5 separate regions of the Homo sapiens genome follow, and regions 2, 3, 4 and 5 are each linked to region 1. Evidence: promoter capture Hi-C in 16 types of primary human blood cells and fetal thymus (Javierre and others, 2016). All regions are on one chromosome and are shown on one strand. Each heading gives the region's core, a stretch centred on a gene start or on the middle of the fragment in contact. The rest is flanking DNA. Distances are from core to core; before and after follow the strand shown. Region 1 holds the start of EFCAB14 (EF-hand calcium binding domain 14). Region 2 overlaps RAD54L (RAD54 like). Region 3 overlaps LRRC41 (leucine rich repeat containing 41). Region 4 has its middle 6.1 kb from the start of NSUN4. Region 5 overlaps NSUN4 (NOP2/Sun RNA methyltransferase 4).

Region 1 (2,587 bases), core at 53-2,552:
CCGGTTTCAAGCCATTCTCTTGCCTCAGCCTCCCAAGTAGCTGGGATTACAAGCGCGCACCACCACGCCCAGGTAATTTTTGTATTTTTAATAGAGACAAGGTTTCACCATATTGGCCAGGATGGTCTCCATCTCCTGACCTTGTGATCCGCCCACCTCAGCCTCCCAAAATGCTGGGATTACAGGCGTGAGCCATCGCGCTGGCCCAGAGTGAATTTTTTTTTTTTTTTTTTTTTTTACGGAAAAGCCAGAGTATGCTACCTCTCAGCTTAAAGCCCCCAGTGCTTTCCCAAAGTCCTTTCAGTGATCCATAAGGCCCTAAAGCCCTGGCCTCTGATGCTTCTCTGACCTCATTTCCTATCACTCTGCTCCTTGCTCTTCTGGTCCAGCCACAACAGGTCTTCCTGGTCACTCCTTCCTGCAGCCACTGCACAGCTCATTCCCTCACCTCTCCTCCGATAAGCTGACTAAATGTTCCCTTTTCACAGAGGCACTCCCCATCACCTGACCGTGTTTCAATTTTCATCATAACACTTATCACCTCCTGACATTTAATATGTTTGCCTATTGTTGCTCTCCTCCCTCTAGAGTATAAATAAACTGCAGGAATAGATTGGCAGATAAGATACACGATGCTCAGTTAAACTTGCATTTCACATACACAATGAATAATTTTTTAGTGTGAGGATGTCCCAGATGTTGCATGGGATGTCTTAATGCTAAAAAATTGTTTGCTGTTTCTCTGAAATTCAAACTTTACTGGGTGTCCTACATTTTTATTTGCTAAATCTGGCAACACTATACAGGAAGACAAGGACCCTGGTTATTTTGTTCATGGCTGTATCCCCAGCGCTAGAACAGCTCCTGACACGTAGTAAGTAAGCTCTCAATAAATATTTATTGACTGAATGAATGTGTTAATTAATCTGAAACGCGCCTAAACTTTTAACAGCCTGTGTGAGAGTCAGAGAGGCGGAGCCTTCAGACTTGGTTAGTCCAGGGGGCGTGGGCGGCTGATGAACTTTCGAAGTAGGTCGAGCAGCCGGGCGCTTTGCCTGCCCCGCCCGCGCTCCGCAGGATGCAGGACTCCACCCGGCTCAGGTTCGCAGCAGGTCCCGGAAGCCCTCCTGGGGGCGGGGCCACCCTAATCGGCAGGTGGGACCCAGCCCCAGCCGGGGCAGGGCCCCTTTAACGCCCCACCTCTCCGCCACGACTTTCGCCCCGGCGTGACGTCACCCCAGCGGGCGACCAATGGGAGTGCGGCTTACTGGCAGGCGGCGCAGGCGGCCGCTGCCAAAGGGGAAGTGATCTGGGGCTGGAGCGATGGCCCGGGGCTGGAGCTCGCGGCCGCCGCCGCCGCAGCCGCCGCCACCAACGCCAACAACAACGTGTCGGGAGCAGCCGCGGCCGAAGCCGGAGCAGGGGCCGGAGTCGCGGCTGGAGTGGGGCCTGCGCGTGTGAGTGGCCGAGAGTTGCCCGTGCCGGAGACCTCAAACTCCGGGCGGGAGCGCTTTCGGTCGGCCGAGCCGCCGTCGCCCGCGGCACCGTGTCCCCAAGGCCCAGACAGCGGGGCGGGGGTCTATCAGGCGCGGGACTGGCTTCTCTCAGGCCGACCCTTCTAGCCGGGCTCCGGATCTTCCTCGGCCTCGGGCCCCCTTCACGTTCAGGACGGAGGCCGGAGAACGGTGATCATCACACACCCCAGCCGGCTTCCTGGCCAGGGCATTTTCTCTGCGGCCAAGCAGTGTTGGGATTGTAGCTGCTGGGAGCCCCCTCCTGCCGCCACCTCTCCTGCAAGGAAGGGACTGACGCGTTCCCACTTTCTTACTCTGCACCTCCCCACTCTCTTCCCATTCAAGAACGAGTTTCTCTTCCCTCTCCATTGGAAATCTTGCTCCGGAGGTCCGAAACACGTATTTTAAGCGTGCCCTTCCTCACCTCCTGGAGCACCCTTAGAAGTATTGCCTACTTATCCGGGCTGAGAATCCTTCATTTTTGACCTGGCTTTTTTTTCGCCCTTTGGGAGATAAAGGTCCCTCTCCACCCTCTACTAACACTCTGCACCCAAGGCCTTATCCTTTGGGGTCACCAGCTCCTTGGCCATTTCTATGTGATTTCCCCCACCCATCTGAGTTCCAGTTTCCTCTGGGCTCCAATCTCCAGTCCCTGGCGGATCTGGTCAGTCCCACCCCTAGGTGGGAGTGACCAGGGGGCTCTGGCCCAGGATTCCCAACCCTGGAAGGCAGCTCCAAGGCAGGAAGAGAATTGGGCATCGGGTACGAACCTGGCAGCTCAGGAGTCGGGGCTCCACTCACCCCACACAAAAAGATGAAAAAGCGCAAAGAGCTCAATGCATTGATTGGTTTGGCTGGGGACAGCCGGAGAAAGAAGCCCAAGAAAGGCCCAAGCAGTCACCGCCTGCTTCGCACTGAGCCTCCCGACTCAGACTCTGAGTCCAGCTCCGAAGAGGAAGAGGAATTCGGTGTGGTTGGAAATCGCTCTCGCTTTGCCAAGTGAGTAGTGGTGAAAGGTGGAATGGGAAGAAGGCATCTCCTTGCACTACCAAGGGGCCACATTGACAGGAAGG
Region 2 (2,587 bases), core at 56-2,555, 470 kb after region 1:
CAGCAGCTCACACCTGTAATACCAGCATTTTGGGAGGCTGAGGCAGGCAGATCACTCAAGGTCAAGAGTTCAAGACCAGCCTGGCCTACATGGTAAAACCATGTCTCTACTAAAAACACAAAAATGTGCCAGGTATGGTGGCGGGTGCCTGTAATCCCAGCTACTCAGGAAGCTGAGGCAGGAGAATCGCCTGAACCTGGGAGGCAGAGGTTGCAGTGCGCCAAGATCACGCCACCGCACTCCATTCTGAGCGACAGAGCAAGACTCCCTATCAAAAAAAAGAAAAAACAAAAACAAAAAAGACTGCATTGGTATAAAGATAACTATAATAATATAATCAGGCTGGATTACTATGTATTTTTTTTCTTCTGATTTCAAAAGGAATTAAAGATCACCATCGCTCTCTAAGTGCAGTGTTAGCTCACCAAGCTCCAGCTGAAGGAGAATGGAGATAAGTAAGCAGGTGAGCCAAGACAGCACCACTGCAGCACTCCAGCCTGGGTGAGAACACAAGACTCTGTCTCAAAAAAAAAAAAAAAAAAAAAGAGTACCTAAGTATATCACTGTGAGTAGAAAAATAGGGGACAGAAATCCGGTATTGCAGTTTGCAGTTTTTCCATTTTCATTTTTTGTGTGAATTCTTTTTTTTTTTTAGACAGAGTCTCGCTCTGTCACCAGGCTGGAGCGCAGTGGCACAATCTTGGCTCACTGCAAGCTCCACCTCCCGGGTTCATGCCATTCCTCAGCCTCTCGAGTAGCTAGGACTACAGGCGCCCGCCACCACACCCAGCTAATTTTTTGTACTTTTTACTAGAGATGGAGTTTCACCATGTTAGCCAGGATGGTCTCAATCTCCGATCTCCTGACCTTGTGATCCGCCCGCCTAGGCCTCCCAAAGTGTTGGGATTATAGGCGTGAGCCAACGTGCCCGGCCTTTTGTGTGAATTCTTAATATAAATGTAGGGATGTAAAGCATTAATACAAGTCAAAATGTTTCAGTGAACAAGTTTCAGCACTTCAATTTTATAACAACCATAAACAAACCTGTTCATATCTTCTGGACAATGGATTTTTTAAAATACAATTTCTTATTGACAGCAACTAAACAGTGTTAGTAGCATTCTTATCATACAGCAGATTCTACCCATTAACTATACTTTTCTGAATTTTCCTATACGCAAGTATTTTTTTTCCTTTTGAGACAGGGTCTCTGTCACCCAGGGTGGAGTGCACTGACAGTATCACGGGTCACTGCACCCTTGACCTCCTCAGCTCAAACGATCCTCCCACCTCAGCCTCCAGAGTAGCTGGGACTACAGTCACGTGCAACCACATCCAGCCAATTTATTTATTGTTTTTTAGAAATAGGGTCTCACTATGTTGTTCAAGTTGGTCTCAAACTCCTGGGCTCAAGTGATCCTCCTGCCTCAGCCTCCCAAAGTGCTGGGATTACAGGTGTGAGCCACCACACCTGGCCTGCAAGTACATTTTTAATGTTGTCTATCTTCTGTTCTATTCCTGTAACTTTGCTATTAAAAGAGAATAGCTCTTGTATAATACATTGAACTTCATGGGCCTCCTGATTACAGTGCCTGCCATCTCCCTCCCACCAAATGCCATTCTTCTTCTGTGTTCCCTATCTCAGCAAATGACACCACCATCCATCTACCTTGCCAAAGCCTAAAATCCCAACTTCATCCTCAATTTTCCCTCTCCCCACATGTAATCAATCCCAAGTTTTTCCACTTGTAATTTTTAAGTATCTCTCAAAATCCACCCACTTCTTCCCATTCCCCATTCCCCTAAAACCCATGTCCAGGCCATAATCCTCTCTTGCTTGGCCACCTGCAATAGCTTTCTCACTAGTTTCCCTACCTCCAGTCTCTCCCCATCCAACAAATATTCTATACTGCTGTTACCTCCTACCCCCACTTAAAACACTTCTAAAGCTCTTCAGTGACCTTAGTCCAGACTCTCCTAGCATGGCTTCTGAAAGGCCTTCCACTCTTAGCCACTGCACAGCTCTCCAACTCTCATCTCTCACCACCATCCCCCAACTCCCCACACTCTCTTTTCAGTACCTGCCTCTATTGCTGCCAGTCTTTCCAATAAGCTGTTCCTTCTATTAGAATGTTTTCCACTCCCTTCACCTGTCTAACCCCTCATATCTTTCAGGACTTAACAGCACATCTCTCAGAGGCAGGTCTTCCCCAATCTCCAGACCCATAGGTCTCCTGTTGTGCACTCCCACAACTGCACTTATGCCATGTAGTTACACAGGACAACTTTGAACAAATCCTGAATGAAACAGTCCCAGAGGATTACACACCATTTTAACACCATTTTCTTTCTTTTGAGACGGGGTCTCGCTCTGTCACCCAGGCTGGAGTGCAATGGTGCCAATCTCAGCTCACTGCAACCTCCACCTCCTAAGCTCAAGTGATCCTCCCATGTCAGCCTCCCAAGTAGCTGGGACAACAGGCACACGCCACCATGCCCAGCTAATTTTTTTTGTATTTTTGGTAGAGATGGGGTTTCACCATGTTGCCTGGGTTGGTCTCAAACTCCTGAGCTCAAGCTATCCGCC
Region 3 (2,587 bases), core at 59-2,558, 430 kb after region 1:
AGGCGTGAGCCACCGTGCCCAGCCGAGAGTGCTAATTATTAAATGCACAGAACCAAGAAAGAAAATACAGACATATTTAACCACATAAAATGCTAACACTATCTTCAGGACTTTGTATTGATTAAATTAAAAAAATGAAAATGCCAACACCATAACCAAATTTTAAAAGGTAAATACACTGGGAAAGAACATTTGCAACAATATTTGCAAAACAAAGGGACACAAAATAAAAAGACAAATATCCCAGTAAAATAAAATGAGTAAGGATTTGGACACATCATGAAATACACAAAAATCCCCAGTAAAGTGAAAAATGTTGTCTCATGATAAAAGTGAGAAAGTAAAATCCCTATTTCACCTCTTAGTTTAGTAAAGTCTTGTTTTGATTTGGTTTTCATCGCAAAGGTAATGCCTAGGTTTGGCCATGGCGAAATTTGCATTTTACTATGCTATTGGAGGGAACAGAAATTGTTGTAACTTTCTTGGTAGGCAATCTGGTAATATTTGTTCAGACTTTAAAATATCTAGGCTGGCTGGATGTGGTGGCTCTTACCTGTAATTCCAGACTTTAGAACACCAAGGCAAGAGGATCACTTGAGCCCATGAATTCGAGACCAGTCTGGGCAACACAGGGAAACCCCATCTCTACAATAATTTTTTTTTTTTTTTGAGACAGAGTCTCTCTCTGTCACCCAGGCTGGAGTGCAGTGGTATGATCTTGGCCCAAGTAGCTGAGATTACAGGCGCCCATCAGCTCGGCTACTTTTTGTATTTTTAGTAGAGACAAGGTTTCACCACATTGGCCAGGCTGGTCTCGAACTCCTGACATCAAGTGATCCACCCACCTTGGCCTCCCAAAGTGCTGGGATTATAGGTATAAGCCACTGTGGCCGGCCTGCAATAATTTTTAAAAATTAGCTGGGCGTGTTGGCATGTACCTCCCAGCTAATTGGTAAGCTAAGGTGGGAGGATCACTTGAGCCCAGGAGGTTGAGGCTGCAGTGAACTATAATAGCACCACTGCACTCCAGCCTGGCTGACAGAGACCCTCTCCTCCCCAGAAAATTTAGGCTGGGCGTGGTGGCTCCCACCTGTAATCCCAGCACTTTGAGAGGCCGAGGCAGGTGGATCACCTGAGGTCAGGAGTTCAAGACCAGCCTGGCCAATATGGTGAAACCCCGTCTCTACTAAAAATACAAAAATTAGCCGGGCGTGGTGGCGCATGCCTGTAGTCCCAGCTACTCAAGAGGCTGAGGCAGGAGAATCACTTGAGCCTGGGAGGTGGAGGTTGCAGTGAGCCAAGATTGTGCCATTGCACTCCAGCCTGGGCGACAGAGCAAGACTCCATCTCAAAAAAAAAAAAAAAAAAAAAAAAACCAGCTGGGGCAACACAGTGAGACCTTATCTCTACAGAAAAAATTTAAAAATTAGCTGTGCATAGTGGCATGCGTCTATAGTCCCTACTACTTGGGAGGCTAAGGCAGGAAGATTGCATGAGCCCCAGGATTCAAGGCTACAGTGAGCTATGATCTCACCACTGCACTGCAGCCCTGGGTGATGGGACAAGACCCTGTCTCTTAAAAAAATAATTTGGCTATAAGTTCTACTCCTTAGAATTTATAGTATATAAAAATTGAGATACTCATGAAGATTTATTTCCAGATGTTTATTACAGAAGAGTTTAATATAAAAAAGCTAGTAACAGGGTCAGGCACTGTGGCTCATACCTGTAATCCCAGCACTTTGGGAGGCCAAGGCGGCGGATCACTTGAGGTCAGGAGTTCAAGACCAGCCTGGCCAACATGGCGAAACCCCATCTCTACCAAAAATACAAAATTTATTTGGGTGTGGTGGCACGTGCCTGTAATCCCAGCTACTTGGGAGACTGAGGCAGGAGAATAGCTTGAACCTGGGAGATGGAGGTTGCAGTGAGCCGAGATCGTGCCACTGTACTCCAGCCTGGGCAACAGAGCAGGAATGTCTTAAAAAAAAAAAAAAAAAAAAAAAAAAAACTAGAAACAGGCCGGGCATGGTGGCTTACGCCTGTAATCCCAACACTTTGGGAGGCCAAGGCAGGTGGATCACCTGAGCTCAGGAGTTTGAGACCAGCCTGGCCAACATGGCGAAACCCTGTCTACTAAAAAATACCAAAAAATTAGCTGGACATGGTGTTGTGTGCCTGTAGTCTCAGCTACTTGGAAGGCTGAGGCACAAGAATTGCTTGAACCCGGGAGGCAGAGGTTTCAGTGAGCTAATATTGTACCACTGCACTCCAGCCCAGACCAGGGCGACAGAGGAAAAAAAAAAAAAAAAGCTAGAAACAATGGAAATATTAAATACAGCAAGTATTATTACATATGGTACACATTTTCAAAATAAAATATTCTAAAAATATTTGAATACATGGTATGTTTTAAAAGCCCAGCATTTGAAACTGTTCAGAATTGTCTCAATGTTGTAAAAACAAATATATATAGGTACTCTCATATATGTAAATACTCCAGAGTTAGTTTACACTTTTGAGACGGTCTCACTCCAGTTGCCCAGGCTGAAGTGCAGTGGCACGATCTTAGCTCACTGCAGCCTCA
Region 4 (2,587 bases), core at 32-2,531, 380 kb after region 1:
AGGCCAGGGATACTGCTCAGTACCCTGCAATACACAGGACAGCCCTTCCCCACAACAATTATCCAACCTAAATATCAACAGTGCTGAGGTTGAGAAACCCTAATATAGAGCTATTTGAACTTTCTAATTCTTCTTGCATTGGTTTTGACAATTTGAATCTTTTTTTTTTCTTTTTTTGAGACAGAGTCTTACTCTGTCACCCAGGCTGGAGTGCAGTGGTGCAATCTCAGCTCACTGCAACCTACACCTCCCAGGTTCGAGATTCTTGTGCCTCAGCCTCCTGAGTAGCTGGGATTACAGGTACGCACCACCATACCCGGCTAATTTTTGTATTTTTAGTAGAGACGGGGTTTCACCATATTGCCCAGGCTGGTCTCTAACTTTCAACCTCAGGTGATCCCCCTGCCTCAGCCTCCCAAAGTGCTGGAATTACAGGCATGAGCCACCAAGCCCAGCCCCAACAATTTTAGTCTTTTAAAGAATGTGTCCATTTCATCTAAGGTATTGATTGTCTTCATATAAAGTGTTTCAGAATATTCCATTATTATCCTTTTAATGTCTATAGTATGGGGCGGCAAACTACAGCCACAAGCCAAATTCATCCTGCAGCCTGTTTTTGAAATATAAATACATAATTTTTATGGCTCCTTTACCACTGCAATAGAGTTAAGTAGTTGCTCCACAGATCATGTGTGGCCCACAAAGCCAAACATGCTCCCTGAATCTTTACAGAAAAAGCTTGCTGACCTTTGGTTTATAGGATCCTTAGTGATGTCCCCTATTACTGATATTGGCAATTTGTGTCTTCCCTCTTTTGTACCTTATCAGGCTAATGAGATGTTTATATATTTTATTGAACTTTTCAAAGGACTAGCTTTCGGTTTTGTTGTTTTCCTCCGTTTCTTTTATATGTAATTGATTTCCACTCTTATATTTATAGTTGATTTCTTTCTACCTTAGTTCTGTTGTCAAACTAAATAAAAGAGATTATCCAAATATAATCAATTAATTCAGGAGTAAGCATTGCAATGTGGAATATGGTACCATATTAACCTACGGGCATATGAGGAGGTAAAGGAAAACAAGAGTTGTTTTTTGTTTTTTAATTTTTTTTGAGACAGGGTCTCATTGTGTTGCCCAGGCTGGAGCGCAGTTGCACAGTCATGGCTCACTGCAGCCTCAACCTCCCAGGCTCAATCAATCCTCCTGCCTCAGCCTCCCAAGTAGCTGGGACTACTACTGGCACAAGCCACCACACCTGGCTAATTTTCATATTTTTTGTAGAGATGAGGTTTCACCATTTTACCCAGGCTGGTCTCAAACTCCTGGGCTCAAGGGACCGCCTGCCTTGGCCACTCAAAGAGTTGGGATTACAGGCATGAACCACTATGCCTGACCTGAAAAAAAAAGCAGGGGGGGCGGGGGTTAAAGGAAAAGTGAGAATCGTTACACATAGTAAGTTGTTTTGGAACAATTATCCCTTGCTACAAGAATTAGTAACAAGGGTTAGTCAATAACAAGCATCAGTCCAAGGTTGGACAGGCAGTTACTGGGCAGATGTTTTCACAGTAGTATTTTGTGTAAGGTTGTGATGGTTTTTGTGCAGGGCTGTGGTTTAGATGCAGACAGGCAGGCGAGCCCCAAAACTGGGGCTTAGTCTGGGAAGGATCTTGGCTTTGCCCAGGAAAGAATTTAAGGGTGAGCCGGTGGTGTTAAACAGCAATTTTTTTTTGAGTCAGGGTCTCACTCTGCCACCCAGGCTAGAGTGCAGTGGTGCAATCCCAATTCACTGCAGTCTCAACCTACTGGGCTCAAACAAGCTTCCCACCTCAGCTACCCAAGTAGCTGGGACCACAGGTGCCCACCACCATGACCAGCTAATTTTTGTATTTTTTGTAGAGACAAGATCTCATTATGTTGCCCAGGCTGGTCTCAAGCTCCTGAGCTCAAGCAATCTTCCTGCCTCAGCCTCCCCAAGTGCTGTTATTGGAGGCATCAGCCACCATGAGTGGTCAAACAGCAATTTTTATTGAACTGGAGCTACTCCTTGTAGAGTAGAGACAACTCATAGGCAGTGTGCCCAGAGCCGCTCTTGTCCTGTTAGCAACTGTATTTATAGCCACTTACACCCACTTTTAATTAGATGCAAATTAAGAAGCAGGCTAATGCAAATTGAGGGGCAGGTTATTCCTAACTTTCTAGGAAAGGGGCAGTAACTTCCTGGTCATTGCCATAGCATCTGTAAATATGCCCCAGAGGAAGTATCTTATGCTAATGACCAGTGAGGGTAGCTAGGGATGGTTTTTGTTGCCATCTGCTGGTTCCTGCCGGTTTCTTCATTTTATCTAAGCGGCACCTTGGGAGCTGGAAATAATTCCTGCCAGTCCCCTACTTCATTCCCCCTCAGAGATTAGATACTCCTCCTTAATCTTAAAGGGGCGGCCAGGTGTGGTGGCTTAGGCCTGTAATCCCAGCACTTTGGGAGGCCAAAGCAGGTAGATCACTTGAGGCCGGGGGTTCGAGACCAGCCTGGCCATCATAATGAAACCCCATCTGTATTAAAAATACAAAAATTAGCTGGGCGTGG
Region 5 (2,587 bases), core at 28-2,527, 370 kb after region 1:
TTTGCTGGGCATGGTGGCACACTCTAGTCCCAGCTACTCGGGAAACTGAGGCAGGAGGACCCCTTGAGCCCAGGAGGTTGAGGCTGCAGTGAGCCGTGTTCACACCACTGTACTCCAGCCTGGGTGACAAAGTGAAAACCTGCCACTCAAAAAAAAAAAACTTTAAAAAAATTAATATGGAGATTTTCAACATGATTAATAAGAGATTGTAAATTAGATACTATCCATTTGGCAAAAAAATTAAGTTTGATAGCACCAATATTGGCAGCATGTGGGAAATCAGTACTCATTCATTACCAGTAGGAGTGAAACTGGTTTAACCTCCACAGAGAAATTTAGCAATCGCTATCAAAATCTTAAATGGATGTAAACTGTTATTCAACAACTATACTTCCACAATGTCAACAAAATTAAAAAAGGATTTAACCCCAGGACACATTATTAAATAAAAAAATACAAAGTTCAGAATAGTGAGTATAATATAATATACTACCGGCTGGGCGCAGTGGCTCACGCCTGTAATCCTAGCACTTTGGGAGGCCGAGGCGGGTGGATCACGAGGTCAGGAGGTCAAGACCAGCCTGGCCAAGATGGTGAAGCCCCGTCTCTACTAAAAAAAATACAAAAATTAGCCGGGCGTGGTGGTGGGCGCTTGTAATCCCAGCTACTCGGGAGGCTGAGGCAGAGAATTGCTTGAACCCAGGAGGCGGAGGCTGCAGTGAGCAGAGATCGCGCCATTGCACTCCAGCCTGGGCAACAAAAGCGAAACTCCGTCTCAAAAAAAAAAAAGAAACAATCGTTATCTATAGGGTGGGGAAGTAGGGGGCTACAGGCCAGATGAGAAAAACTCACTTTTCATTGGATACTCTTTTGTGCCTTCTGAATTTTGTACCATGTGCTGTACTAACATTCAAAAATAAATAAATGAGCTTATTCTTACTTACCTTCATGAGGCTTTCTGAGCAACCAAGTGACTTGAGAAATAAAGTAAGCCTAGTAAATTTTTCCCCTACTCAAATAGTTTCAAATTCTTTTTTGCTGCCAACTATCTTTAATAGAGATAATAACCAGTCATCTAAGCTGATTTTTCTTTTGGTCAAATCACCAATGTAGAACTGGCCAGTCCAGAAACAGCTCTACATGCTCAAACATAGGGGCTGGATCCTAACCCCTCAGGCCCTAGAACCAGGATGGGGAGGCCGCATTAAGCTGGATGCATGTCCTAAATCAAGAATCACTCACCCGGTCATAGGTGTCCCCCTCCAGTTCTCCCCATTTCCTGCCATCCCATGAGGTAACTCGAACTTGATTTCCATCCCTGATCTCTTCAGGCACATAGCTGTGAAGGATCTTCTGTAGTCTGGCTATTCGGGACGGGGAGAGATCATTGGCAGCAAGATTGCCTATGGAAATAAAGATACTTCAGAGGCCATGACCCAATGAAACATTCCACCAGCAATGGCGCTGATGGAGTCAGACCAATTCTCAGGTAGTCCCAGCCAATGCAAACCCCAGCATCAGGAACATTTATTATGTGCATGGCACAGCATCAGTCATTCTGAGTGGGGGTACAATGGCAAACACCTAAATGGGCCAGAAAGTATCAAAGTTATTTAAGTCAATGAATAAAGCAGACCAAGTAAGACTCCTTTCCTTTCTCCTTTCCTGTCCTCTCTCCCCTTTCTCCCCTTTCTTTCCCCTTTCCCCTTTTCCTTTCCCCATTACTTTCGCCTTTCTTCTCTCCTTTCCCTCTCCCCTTTCCTCCCTTTCCTTTCTCTCCTTTTCTTTCTCTCCCTCTCTTTCCTTTTGTTTTTTTTTTAAGACAGAGTCTCATTCTGTCGCCCAGGCTGGAGTTCAGTGGCACACTCTCAGCTCACTGCAACCTCCACCTCCTGGGTTCAAGTGATTATCATGCCTTAGCCTCCTGAGTAGCTGGGACTATGGGTGTGCACCACTATACCCGGCTAATTTTTGCATTTTTAGTAGAGACAGCATTTCACCATGTTGGCCAGGCTGGTCTTGAACTCCTGACCTCAGGTGATCCCGCCTGCCTTGGCCTCCCAAAGTGCTAGGATTACAGGTGTGAGCCACTGCACCCAGCCACATTCTTTTTTTTTTTTTTTAAAGACAGGGTCTCTGAGTCTGGGCATAGTGGCTCACGCCTCTCATCCCAGCACTTTGGGAGGACGCCAAAGTAGGTGGATTGCTTCAGCCCAGGAGTTCAAGACCAGCCTGGGCAACATAGCGATACCTCATTTCTACAAAAATAAAAATATATTTAAATAATTTTTTAAAAAGAGACTGGAAGGCCAGGCACGGTGGCTCACACCTGTAATCCCAGCACTTTGGGAGGACAAGGCAGGCGGATCACAAGGTCAGGAGATCGAGACCATCCTGGCTAACATGGTGAAACCCCGTCTCTACTAAAAATACAAAAAATTAGCCGGGCATGGGGGTGGGTACCTGTAGTCCCAGCTACTCGGGAGGCTGAGGCAGGGGAAAGGCGTGAACCCGGGAGGCAGAGCTTGCAGTGAGCCGAGATGGCGCCACTGCATTCCAGCCTGGGCGACAGAGCAAGGCTCCATCT

What was found. The method cuts DNA at HindIII sites, captures the fragments that hold promoters and counts their contacts. A CHiCAGO score of 5 or more calls a contact.
Region 2: a fragment that was not itself captured here is called in contact with the fragment with the promoter of EFCAB14 in region 1 in 2 of 17 cell types (neutrophils and monocytes); the score reaches 5.4 in neutrophils.
Region 3: a contact is called between a fragment that was not itself captured here and the fragment with the promoter of EFCAB14 in region 1, in 1 of 17 cell types (neutrophils). The highest score is 5.6, in neutrophils.
Region 4: a fragment that was not itself captured here is called in contact with the fragment with the promoter of EFCAB14 in region 1 in 3 of 17 cell types (neutrophils, monocytes and total CD4 T cells); the score reaches 7.4 in neutrophils.
Region 5: a contact is called between a fragment that was not itself captured here and the fragment with the promoter of EFCAB14 in region 1, in 1 of 17 cell types (neutrophils). The highest score is 6.9, in neutrophils.

The regions. Positions count from the first base shown.
Region 1 is chr1:46,717,829-46,720,415 of GRCh38, reverse strand. EFCAB14 (EF-hand calcium binding domain 14) reads left to right here and starts at 1,302. Exons shown (of 11, transcript NM_014774.3): 1 at 1,302-2,513. The coding sequence starts at 2,329. RefSeq lists silencers at 1,078-1,127, 1,448-1,497. The HindIII fragment of the contact is 11,051 bases long and covers 1-2,587 here.
Region 2 is chr1:46,251,679-46,254,265 of GRCh38, reverse strand. All of the region lies in intron 3 of RAD54L (RAD54 like), which reads right to left. Among named protein-coding and RNA genes, the nearest start is that of RAD54L, 5.2 kb to the right of the region's middle. The HindIII fragment of the contact is 4,720 bases long and covers 1-2,587 here.
Region 3 is chr1:46,290,341-46,292,927 of GRCh38, reverse strand. All of the region lies in intron 3 of LRRC41 (leucine rich repeat containing 41), which reads left to right. Among named protein-coding and RNA genes, the nearest start is that of LRRC41, 12 kb to the left of the region's middle. The HindIII fragment of the contact is 8,091 bases long and covers 1-2,587 here.
Region 4 is chr1:46,333,411-46,335,997 of GRCh38, reverse strand. No RefSeq gene overlaps it. Among named protein-coding and RNA genes, the nearest start is that of NSUN4, 6.1 kb to the left of the region's middle. RefSeq lists a silencer at 2,009-2,058. The HindIII fragment of the contact is 1,082 bases long and covers 741-1,822 here.
Region 5 is chr1:46,351,684-46,354,270 of GRCh38, reverse strand. NSUN4 (NOP2/Sun RNA methyltransferase 4) reads right to left here. Exons shown (of 6, transcript NM_199044.4): 4 at 1,243-1,403. Among named protein-coding and RNA genes, the nearest start is that of NSUN4, 12 kb to the right of the region's middle. The HindIII fragment of the contact is 4,922 bases long and covers 1-2,587 here.